3 separate regions of the Homo sapiens genome follow, and regions 2 and 3 are each linked to region 1. The links are contacts of gene promoters, found by promoter capture Hi-C in blood cells and fetal thymus (Javierre and others, 2016). All regions are on one chromosome and are shown on one strand. The core of a region is centred on a gene start or on the middle of the fragment in contact, and the rest is flanking DNA. Distances in the headings are between cores, read along the strand shown. Region 1 holds the start of EEPD1 (endonuclease/exonuclease/phosphatase family domain containing 1). Region 2 has its middle 53 kb from the start of MATCAP2. Region 3 overlaps LOC105375233 (a long non-coding RNA gene).

Evidence for each region. The method cuts DNA at HindIII sites, captures the fragments that hold promoters and counts their contacts. A CHiCAGO score of 5 or more calls a contact.
Region 2: a contact is called between a fragment that was not itself captured here and the fragment with the promoter of EEPD1 in region 1, in 1 of 17 cell types (neutrophils). The highest score is 5.0, in neutrophils.
Region 3: a contact is called between a fragment that was not itself captured here and the fragment with the promoter of EEPD1 in region 1, in 2 of 17 cell types (M2 macrophages and endothelial precursors). The highest score is 5.4, in M2 macrophages.

The regions. Positions count from the first base shown.
Region 1 is chr7:36,151,661-36,155,493 of GRCh38, reverse strand. EEPD1 (endonuclease/exonuclease/phosphatase family domain containing 1) reads right to left here and starts at 2,240. Exons shown (of 8, transcript NM_030636.3): 1 at 1,820-2,240; 2 at 292-1,361. The coding sequence starts at 1,169. RefSeq lists a silencer at 2,109-2,828. The HindIII fragment of the contact is 12,213 bases long and covers 1-3,833 here.
Region 2 is chr7:36,312,559-36,316,391 of GRCh38, reverse strand. No RefSeq gene overlaps it. Among named protein-coding and RNA genes, the nearest start is that of MATCAP2, 53 kb to the left of the region's middle. The HindIII fragment of the contact is 845 bases long and covers 1,779-2,623 here.
Region 3 is chr7:36,004,352-36,008,184 of GRCh38, reverse strand. All of the region lies in intron 1 of LOC105375233 (a long non-coding RNA gene), which reads right to left. Among named protein-coding and RNA genes, the nearest start is that of EEPD1, 150 kb to the left of the region's middle. The HindIII fragment of the contact is 2,199 bases long and covers 797-2,995 here.

The DNA.
Region 1 (3,833 bases), core at 991-3,490:
ATCCTCCAAAGCAGTAACAAAAACACAACCTCTGCTTACCCCAAAATTATGAATCAGTCTCAGATATCTCACACTCAAGACATGGGTCACAAGCCCAGCTGTATTCAGAAAATTCTGGAGCAGAAGGACAGCCCATTCTCAGGTGACGGTATTGGCTGAGGCTTCAAGAACATTGATTAAAAACTCTTGCACCCTCCCTACCCGCAAAAGAATCCATTCATTTGCATCCATAGATGAGGTCACGCACAAGTTGCCTTCACACCCAACACCCATGGTGGTTCCTGTCCTCACCTGTTTTCCAGGAGTGTCATGCACACCACCTCTCGCACCCCGGGGTTGTTGGCCTTCTCCACGGAACAGCCCTGCAAGTTCCAGGTGGCCAGCCTCAGCACAGGCCTCCCATCCCTTGTGCCTCCAAAGGCCTCCACGGACGGCCGAGTGGAGATAATCTGGGTGGGCCCCCCTGGCGGCAGGTCCAGGTCCTCACTCTGCAGGCTCAGGGAAGTGGGGCTCGGGTGAGGCTTGGCGGTGAAGGTCAGTCCCCCGTTCGTGTGGGTGGATGGGGGCCTGGACCTCTCAGCAAACACCTGGTGCCGGATCCTGTCCAGGAAGGCGGCATTGATACCATCCATCCTCACTAGGTCCTCAACGCTGCGAAAGGGCCCATGCTCACGGCGGAAGTCCACGATGCTGAGGGCCATTTTCTCCGAGAGGCCTCGCACGCTCATGAGCTGGGCCGGGGTGGCTGTGTTGATGTTAACACGTGGGGTGAGGGGCACAGCTGTGGCCAGGTGGTGAGGCTGCTGCTCCGCTAGCAGGTCCCGCCGCAGGGAACTGGGAGAGTGCTGCGCTGAGCTGCCCTTGCTGCTCACACAGATCTCAAACTTGACCTGCTCCAGCTTGGTGGCGCCTACACCACTGACCAATGCCAGGTCCTCCACCTTCTTGAAGCCACCGATATACTCTCGGTACTCCACGATGCTGCGTGCCACGGCACGCGTCACCCCAGGCAGGGTCATCAGCTCCTCCTCCGTGGCAGTGTTGATGTTGAGCCGCTCCTGATTCACTAGAATGTTGCTGAAGTTACAGGCTGCGCTGAACTTGCGGCTATGGGACAGGTCCGAGGGGTCCCTGGGGATGGAGCGGTGGCAGCCCAGGGTGCTCCCCATGGTCCGCCAGGATCAGGCTCCCGGGAAGGCCGCACCACTGCAGAAGAGCTCTCTGGCTAGGGAGGAAGCCCAGTAGGCCGTACAAGCACAGAAAAACGGAAGGTGCAGGATTCAGGGACTGAAGAGGTTACTATAGACAAACACCGAATCTTCCATGCCTGGCGTGTCCAAAATTACCTTTCACTTGGCCGCCTAGAAAATAAATCAATAAACATAGAAACCCATTGAATTAAGAAATTTGCATTAGCACCCCCTACCTAGTGCTAGAGTTAGTAACCAGGAGTCGGGGACTGGTGGCTGCCCGTGAACCCCTAAAAACGCAGGCACAATGAGGCTAGGCCCATGTGGATTCTCCTCTAGGGACGTCCGGGTTTTATCACACTGGAGTCCAAAAAGGCTACGAGCCGCTTCTCTTGGGAAGAGACCTATCCCCATCAGCCTCATGCCTCTCCTCCAGGCCTCTCTCAACTCTGACACTTGGGTCACCCACACTTGGGCTCGCGCAGACGGGGTGGCCACTCCACCTCCCCCACGCTCCGCATCTGACACAGCGCTACCTGCAACCTGGGAAGTCCGTGCTCCCCGGAGCGGGCACTGAGAAGGGGCTTATCGACCCCCCACCCGACCTGCCGCGGGTCCCCGCGCCCCACCTCTCGGCCGCTCTGCGGGGCGCCGGTTCCTCTTCCACCTGCGGCTCGGAAGCCTGAGCCCAGCCCGGGACAGCACGGGCCCCCTGCCTCCAGCCTAGGCGTCCGCGCGGGTGTGGGTCACTGGTCAGGCCCTGGAAGCCGACTACGCCGCTTCGGTCTGCGTGTCCCGGCTCTTTCTATGGGAGAAACTTAGCATCGCTCTCCCAGAGTGAATAGAAGCCGCAGGGCTGCTCGGAGGCGGCGGCAGCGGCGGCGAAACCCGCCGCCGAGGCTGCACCGGGGCTTGCGGCGGCGCCGCCGCAGTTGCGTTTACCCCGGCAAAAAGTCCTGCGCCCAACTCGGGCGGGGATCCGCCAGAGCCAGTCCAGACCCAGCACCAGCCGCACGGCTCCCGCTCGCAGTCGGTGTCAAAGCCAAAGTCCCGGCCGCGCCGCGCCGCGCCGCTCGCGCCTCCGCAGGCACCGCGGCCACGCCTCCTCCGCGCGGCAACTCCTCCCCGGGACTCCCGAGGGCACGTGGGGGAGGGGCCCTGGCGCGGGGCGAGGCCTGGCACCAGTGGGTGGAGAGAGGAACCCGAGAGCGCAAGGGCGGGCCTGGAGTGGGAGAGGCGGGGCCATGGAAGAGGGGGCGGCATCAAGGCTCAAGAGGGTGGAGAACGAACCAGAGAGCGCGAGGGGAGGCCCTGGCGTGCGAGAGGAGGAGCCATGGGTGTGGGGGCGTGGCCTGGCACAAATGGGTGGAGAGCAGAACCCTGGAGCGCGTGGGGCGGGCCTGGAGTGCGAGAGGCGGGGTCATAGAGTGTGGGAGCGGGGCCAGGGCGCGATGGGGTAGGAAAAGCGGGGGCGGGGCCATGAGCGCGGGGGTAGGCCCCGGGAGCGCAGAGGCGGGACTTAGGGGGCTTAAGGGGCGGAGCCGGCGCCGTGCCGGCGAGGGCGGGTCACAGGGAGGCTGTCCTAAGTCAGCTGCCCCCGGACCATGGTTGCCGCCCGGGGCCTAGGACTGGTTGTGCCTGGTAGAGGCTGTTTAGGATTGCCCGAGGCGAGATCTGCTCAGCTGCTTTTCGTCTGTCTTTGAGGTGTGGGGATGAAGGCCGGGGCAGTCCCTGAGAGTGCATCGCTGTAGGTCCAGGGTCTCACGGAATTTTGCAGAACGTTCCAGAGGAGACTGAATGGGATCGTCTTAATTTCTGTCCCCACTTTCGGCCTTTTCTTTTCTTCCACCAGTGTATTACCTTTGCTCCGCTCAGAGAGATGTCCTCTAATAACGCCAGCGACGCATTGTGCTCCTAGCAGAGGGCACGCACCACCCTCCTGTGTGTTCGCATAGGTCAAATACAGGTTTGCTCCTTTGCACATTTAGCGCTGTGAGTAAACAAGGATAAGTTTTTGTAATATTAAGTCTAATCATTACGAAGGAGGGAAATGGGGGCTGCTTCCCAAAACCCAGAAGAGTTTTTGCATCACACTGCTAAATGACAATTTGGTTAAAGATTAAAGAGCCCTCTGCATTATAGTGGATACCTAGAGCTAGAGTATTCGATTAAGCAAATCATGCGGTGATATCGTTGAATACTTTGACCCTGGACGTTTAGTGTTCTCTGAAGTTTCATCCCCAACCAATGTGACCAGTGCATCTGGTTTCAATTCCAAGGACTGGGTCAGCAAAAATAGTACCTCTCACAGGCGGAAGGTACTTTGGTTGTAAAATTAGCGGCAGCCCAAGTTTGGAAAATGCTACTGCCTTTCTGAGGCACATTCCCCTGCTATGTATATTGGTCAGAAAACCAAGTCAAACTAGCTTAGACCAAAAAAAAAAAAAAAAAGGTCGGGGGGAAATTTTTGGTTCCTTGTTGAAAAGTTAAGGTAAGGAATCTTACCTCAAGTCTGGTTGCATCCGACCCAAGTGATGATGGGGTCATTAGGACATGGCAGGACTGCCTCCATCTCTGGCTCCACGGTTCTCTTTATTGGCTTTATTTTTAGGCAAGCTATTTGCACTTGATCGCAAAAATGCC
Region 2 (3,833 bases), core at 952-3,451, 160 kb before region 1:
CTGTGGATCGGAATTCGGCCGGCTAAGCAGACACTATATTAGGCACTCCCAGAACCAAAAGCACCAAGCGAAGCCTGCCTTATGTGGTTTGACCCCAGAGCTCAGGAAAACAGAAGCAGGTGAGAAATCCCTTCCATGGCCTTTTATCTCTCTCCCTTCTTCCTCGTCCCCAGGCCACCTGGAAGGAGGGAGTCGGTGAACCATCTCTTTTCCTGCTGCTCTCTTTAGCAGGCCTTCGAACTTCACTGCCCTTGCAGACCCAAGTTTTCCACATTACCAAGCCCAGCCTGGCCACCCAGGCACACAGATTTGAGAAAAAGAGGGTGCCTCCCTCCATCCCTACCTTCCTGGAGGGATAAAGGCAGAAGCAGGAGACACCCCTGGGAAGCAAGAGCAAGGCCCCAGGGTGCCTAGGACAGGGCCTCACCTTTGCCTTTGAAGCTTATCCTTGCTATCGCAGGCTGCGCCTGCACTCCTGGCCTGCAGTGGCCCGGTGGCCTGGCTACCCCTGAACCTCTGCCGTCTCCTTTCTGCTGTCTGTGTGTTTCTGGGGCAAAACCAAGCTCTCAGGTCAACCTCAGCTACTCAGCCTTCTAAGCAGTTTCCAGAAAGCAGGAAGTAGCAGGAAATGCTCCCTAGACTGTCTCATTTGCATGAGCCCCGCCCACCTTTGTCAAGGACGTTTGTTTTCCGTGACCCTCCTTCCAATCTGACTTCTTTCATTATCCCCCACCCACTGCACTCACTCCTTAGCTCAGTAAAACTCGAGTCCCTAATGCCCTCCCAACAATAATAATTTAATTAAATAATTTGTCGCAATAGAAGTCAGCAGAGTACTTGGGAAATGGCATCTTCCATCACTGACTACTGGCAATTGGCCAGACACCAAAACCAAAAGCTGCAGGGCAATCCTGCCTTATGTGGTTTGACCCTGAAGGTCAGGGTTGCCCCTACTCTCACTGGTGGCCTCTCTCATGCCCAGCAAACTCCTTCCAACAAGGGTCCCCTTGCCTATTTTCAGTGGTGGTTTAAACTCTGTGCCCCCCACTTCTGATGGGGCCCTGACATCTGAACTTGTCCCCCTGTATGGTGTTGGCTCCCACAAAGGGGCCTCCTCATGCTTGGCTGGGGACCGTCCACCCCTGGACACTGCTCAGCTCTGCACAGAAGCCAGGATTGAAAGACATCCTCCAGACTGTAGAAAATTGCCCCCATCCCCAGGGCATGTTCTGCATTTCTCAGTGCCATCCTGCTCACAGATTTGGGTGGTCTGGGAACTCCCCAAACCTTTCCATCCACATTGCACTCCTGTCTTCCCTAGAGACACTTGGCCACCACTGAAGATAATGATGGTGGTGACGATTTCATGCCAAATATATTTCATTTAATCTTTATGACAATATTAAAGGTAGTAGACATACCTCCATTTTTCAGGTAAAGAAACTGAGAGGCTCAGAGGGGTCGAGTGACTTTCCCAAAGTCACACCAATAGTAATTTCCGGAAAGGATCTGAACAGGAGTTTGGGCTCATAACACCCATTATAGCCATGCTCTTAGTGCTACCCAGGGCTTCCCTCACTCTCTTCCTGTCAATGCCCTGAAACTTGCTTCAACCTCCAGCTCCACCTGGCACCTTTCCAGGGACCCACTCCCAAAGGGTGGGTAAATGTCACCCTAGCTCTGATGCTCAGACGCAGAGATACTGCAGAGAGGATGGGGTAGTGGTGGTGGAAGAAAGCAAGGAAGGGAGAGGACACCCTTGAGGTGAGAGACAAGCTTCACTGGTAACCCCAGGGTTTCTCTGCTCTCTGCTCTCTCCCTCCCCACATCAGGATCTGCCCTGGGTGACAAGACCAAGGGAGGTGAGCTGGTGGAGACCGGCACCATCCCAGGTCTCCCTCAGCCTATTTGTTGCTGCTCTTGGCTACAGAGCCTTCTTTGGGGAGGCGGGCAGAGCCACATTCCACCTGACTTTGTGGGGCTGAGTAGTTCTCCTGCATTCCCTCTCTGAACTTCATTCATTCATTTGCTTCTCCAATGCCATGATGTGCCAGGTTCTGGGGATACAGACATGATCATCTATTAGTCTCCTAGGGGTGTCATAACAAATTACCATCAATTGAGAGGCTTACAACTAGAGAAATTTATTCACCCATGGTACTGGAGTCAGGGAGTCCAAAATCAAGGTATGAGCGAGGCCACTCCCTCTGAAGCCTGCAGGGAGGACCCTGCCTCTCCTCTTCCAGCCTCGGACGCTGCTCCGCAGTGTTCCTTGGCTTGCAGCTCCATCACTGTAATCTCTGCCTCCGTGGCCACTTGGCCCTCTCCCTGTTTGTTTCTGTTTTTTCTTCTTCTTATATGAATACTAAGTCATATAGGATGAAGGGCTCACTCTACTCCAGTAGGACCTTATCTTAATTGTGTCTGCAATGACCCTATTTGCAAATAAAGTCACAGTCTAAAGTACTAGGGGTTAGGATTTTAATATAAATTTTGAGGGGACACATTTCAGCCCATAAGAAAAGGTAACAGCCTCCCTGCTCTTAAAACATCATCATGATCAATCATCACCATCGTCATCATCATCATCATCATCATCGGGACTGTCATCTTCAGGTAAGCTTCCCTCTACTTCTCTACATGTGCAGTCTGGCTGGGAGGCAGGCCTGACAGCCGAGGCACTCCACGGTTTGATGTGTGTTCTCATAGAGGAATGTCCCACCCTTGACGGGAGCACAGCAGACCCATCATGGAAGGCTCTGGAAGGGCAGGTTTCCCCACCCGCTCCCAACTGCCTGGGCAGTTGACCTATAGGCACCCTAGTTCAACTTGTCCAAAACGGGGATTAGCATCTTCTCCCCAAACCTGGCTCTTTTCCTGAATTTTTCTTTTTTCTTTTTTTTTAAACCTAACAAAGATCAACTTCTTAGAAACCTGAAGCTGGTCAGGGTGGAGGCAGAACTCGAACCCATGTCCTTGTGACACTCAACAGTGTCCCAATAGCCCACCTCTGCACTTGCTTTCCAGCCCCTCAGGCCTTTCTCTGAGACTAGTGTGACCAACCTGGCCCCCACCAGCTCTGCTAACACCTTAGCCGAAGGACCGCACAATAATATGCCGGCAACGAGAGCCATCCCCCATCCCTGCCCCGATACCTGCGCCGCTCCCGGCACTGCGGATGCAGGCCCCCTCCTCTACCTGTTCCTACTCCCACACAAGCCTGCAATGCTCCCCAGCGCCGCAGAACCACCTCAACATCCTTAGCCTGCCTTGGAAGAGCTGGCCTGTGGCTCCCGTCAGTCTCCTCTCCATATCTCGTCCTAAGCTCTTGCCAGGAGCAGCCACATCACTGCTGTCCTCCCTCCACACCCCGGCCCTCCTGGTCCCCTCTTCCGGGGATGCCATCTGCTACTCACCCGGTCAGGTCCCCGCTCAAGGGGACCTCTCCCAGGAAGACTCCTCAGACTCGCCTCCAGCTGAGCAGGTTCTCCCTCCTTCCTCAGGTTCACACAACACTCTTTATCTCCGCTGCAAACGTTTTTCTGCATTTATTCTTAATTGTGAGCCTCCCTCTAAACTGTTAAAAGCCAGGCCACAGGTGTCGGAGCTGAGCTGGAATCCTGACTTTGTTGCCTCCTGGCGGCGAGGCCCAGGTACTGGTTACTTATCTTCTGAGTTTCGGTTTTCTTTTCTGCACCATGGGGCTGAGGTGAGGTTTAAGGCGCCTTGCCAGGTGTGTGGTGCTGACAAGGCTGGCAGCGAGCACCTGTTCACTTCGGTGCCCTCCCTTCTTCCCCTAAGGAATACCTCCCCACCTCTTTTCCATCTGCTGG
Region 3 (3,833 bases), core at 647-3,146, 150 kb after region 1:
AAAAAAAATTAATAACATTTTAAGATAATATATACATAGGAAGTAATCAAAGCAACCATTTCTGGTGATTAGGTTGGGGTATTTGAGGGACTTTCACGTTCTTTGTTTATTTGTTTGTTTGTTGGTTTGAGATGGAGTTTTGCTCTTGTTGCTCAGGCTGGAGTGCAATGGCTTGATCTCAGCTCACTGCAACCTCTGCCTCCCGGGTTCAAGCGATTCTCCTGCCTCAACCTCCCGAGTAGCTGGGATTACAGGCGCCTGCCACCATGCCCAGCTAATTTTTGTATTTTTAATAGAGACGGGGTTTCACCATGTTGGCCAGGCTGGTTTCGAACTCCTGACCTCAGGTGATCCACCCACCTCAGCCTCCCAAAGTGCTGGAATTACAGATGTGAGCCATCGCGCCCGGTCTGGGATTTTCACATTCTATGTAATTCAACTCTGCATGTTCAAAATATTTTGAACCCGGAATTACAGTTGTAATCATAAATAATAATAAATATATAAATGACCATGGGTTATTAACATCCCACTGGTGCCTCTGCACAACCCTTGGGAGACAAGCCATTGCCTCTTAAGTGGGACAAAATCTTTTGATAATAATATTTCAGTTCAAAATAGTAAGTAATTAAGACATTTTAAAAAATCTAAAATACTGCCATTAATCAAATAATTCATTTTACAACAATGAAACTACATTTTTGAAACAGTGAGATTGTTTTTCTTTGCTGAATTATTTGGAACTCAACAAACGAATGTTCTCTAAGCAGGGTGTTTAACAGCACATAGTCAAGCTTTTCTTTCCCCCCAGCAAGTTCTGTCTTCCAAACTGCAGTCATTCAGCTGGTTTGCAAAGAGAAGAAGATCAACTTGAGGTTCAAGCCAGGACTTGGAGGCGGTAACGACTGTGAGGTGCGGGCCCTAAAACCACCCCATACCTGAATAAGACACACTAATTATGATATTCCAATGTGGTGGTTGTGGGGGGGCAGTCTGAGAGGCAACTATGCAAATAAGATACCCAAATATTGGTTTCATAACCCTTAAACTCCTCATCAGAATCAGGAGTGAAAAGGCTGATGGCAAGGACAGGTAGGGCTTTTGAAAAGGACTTTCAGCAGCGCTCTCTGTGTGCTGAGTCCCTCCCACTGGGTGCTTGGAAGCCTACTCTGCGTCTCAAGGCTTTGGAAGAGGGGCTTTAATGGGAGGGCTCAGAGTCTCCCTCTGTCTCCGCTGCCACCCACCGCAGTAGCAAAGCAGAAGAAAGCTCTGTGACCCTGGGTTGGATCAAAGGAACAGCAGAAATGAAGAACAGCTGCCAGATGCAGAGAGGAGAACAAAACTTGGCAAAGAAACTAATTTAGAGAAGAGTTGATACTAAAAAACCTCCAGGAATTCAGATAAATCTTGCCACAGCTCTGTACTTCTACAACCAATGGGAAAATGTTTGAATCAATCTTATCTAACTCTGAAAAGGTCCTGAGACCCTGGTTGATATCTAGGTTATACCGTATTAGTTAAAAACACCACATCTTTGCAATGAGGAGCTGCCTGGCATAGCTCTCCGTGAGGCACCGAGATGATGCCACTTTCTCATAAACACACAGGTGTCAGACCCTCTCCCACTGGCTGCTGGGGGAGATGGGGCAGATGGAAACTTGGCTGAGACTGTAAGGAACCCGTGGAGTCAGGGTTGTTAGAGAAACCTTCACAACTCCTCTTTTGGAGGCCACCAAAATCCACAGAGGTCCAAGAACCAAAGATTAAGCTCTTTAGTTGCAGAAAGTCTAAACCAGTCATGAAAACTAGGCCCCAACCCAGATATCTGAAGGCAAAATATGGAATCAGGGGTCTTTAAGCCTCCTGGGAACACTGTGGAACAGCCACTTGTGTGTGCACCCAGTGATGAAGGACTGGTCTTGTACAGTCAAGCAATGATGAATGAATTATCTATTCAAGCCAAGAAACTAAGTCATAATCATTAATACTGTAAGACTAACTCCTGGCTCATCCACATGGGCCATTAGCAGTCCCAAGTACATACAGTGAGAAACACCATCCTTCTAGATAAAGACTAGGGAAGGAGATAACTCAGCAGTTTTCTGCCATAATGGGGATCTGAATAATACAAATATTTGACATTTGTAGATGGTGTGCAATGATCTCAATCCTCTTATCTAAGCCTTGCTGGAGACAGCACTTGTAACATCTACATGATTTTTCATCTTCTCTCCCTTCCTCTACTTTGGTGAATATGTTCACCAATAGAACTGTCTGAGAAAAGGGGATGAAAGGAGGGCAGAAAAATAGCCATCCATAAACAGGATGACCAGTTTCCATGTTACCAAAAGCCATCCATCCTGTGTAGTGTCAAGATCCTTGTAAGCCACTGCTATGTTTTAAGCAGGCAATGTTGATATCAGACCCAGCAGTGATGAAGCTCTTGTTCTTAAATTCCACATGCAAAAGAGGCACACAATTCTTTTGTATTTATATTTATATATGTTACATTTATTTAATGTTTCCATTATCAGACTCTTAAAAGTAATGAAAAACTATTAAATCTATTAAATATCAATTTACCAGCTGTAGCGAGGAATAGCCACCACTGACATGGCCTAGACAGTGTGTGACCTTTTGGAACACTCAGATTGCTTTCCCAAGTGCCCGCAAGTGGGAGGAGAAAGGAAACGTGCTATACAGATGCTGCTTCCTCCCTGGTCTACCTCCTCACTCTATGGTTTGAAATCAAATGTTCTGTGTCTTGAGATGAAATTCAATGGGTAGGTCAGAGCTGGCTGGTTCATAGCAGCAGCTTGACTTGGCAGCAAATTGAACCTGTTTGGAATGTGGAGAGGTAAAGTTTACAAAATGGGTATACTCAGAGTGTATTACTTATTTGATTTCACTGTCTGGTTTGATTCCTTACATCCTCCCTATGATAGGCAGAAAGTGGTACTATTATCCCAATTGTACAGAAAGTGTTACTGAAGCTTATGAAGGTTACAGAATAGTTCAAATTCAGAACCATGCTTTAAACCCAAGTAACTGCAAGGCCAGTGCTCTTTCTATGCCCTCTCTTCCTCATTTCCTCTTGTCCCAAAAGGGGGCTAAATGTGGCCCCTGTCAGATACTGTACCTCTTTTCTTTCCTGCTACCCTGATCTCTTATTTACTGATGAATTATTTATTCTCTGAGCATTTTCTCCCCAATATATTTAAAAACAAAATTTTTAATTGTGGTAAAATATACATAACATAAAATTTACCGTCTTTTTTTTTTTTTTTTTTTTTTTTGAGATGAAGTCTTACTCTGTTGCCCGGACTGAAGTGCAATGGTGTGAGCTCAGCTCACTACAACCTCCACCTCCCAGGTTCAAGCAATTCTCATGCCTCAGCCTTTCGAGTAGCTGAGATTACAGGCATGTGTCCCCATGCCTGGCTAATTTTTGTATTTTTAGTAGAGATGGGGGTTTCACTATGTTGGCCAGGCTAGTCTTGAACTCCTAGCCTCAAGTGATCCTCCCGCCTCAGCCTTCCAAAGTGTGGGATTACGGGCATGAGCCACCGTGCCTGGCCAAAATTTACCATCTTAACCACTTTTAAGTATACAGCCTAGTGATATTAGGTGCATTTACATTGTTGTGCAGCAGTATACACTATTTGTCTTAGTCCATTTTGCATTGTTGTAAAGGAATACCTGAGGCTGGGCAATATGGTTCTGCCAGGCTTTACAGGAAGCATAGCAGCAGCATCTGCTTCTGGTGAGGGCCTCCGGAAGCTTCCACTCATGGCAGAAAGGGAATAAGAGATGGCATCATGTGACAAGAGAGG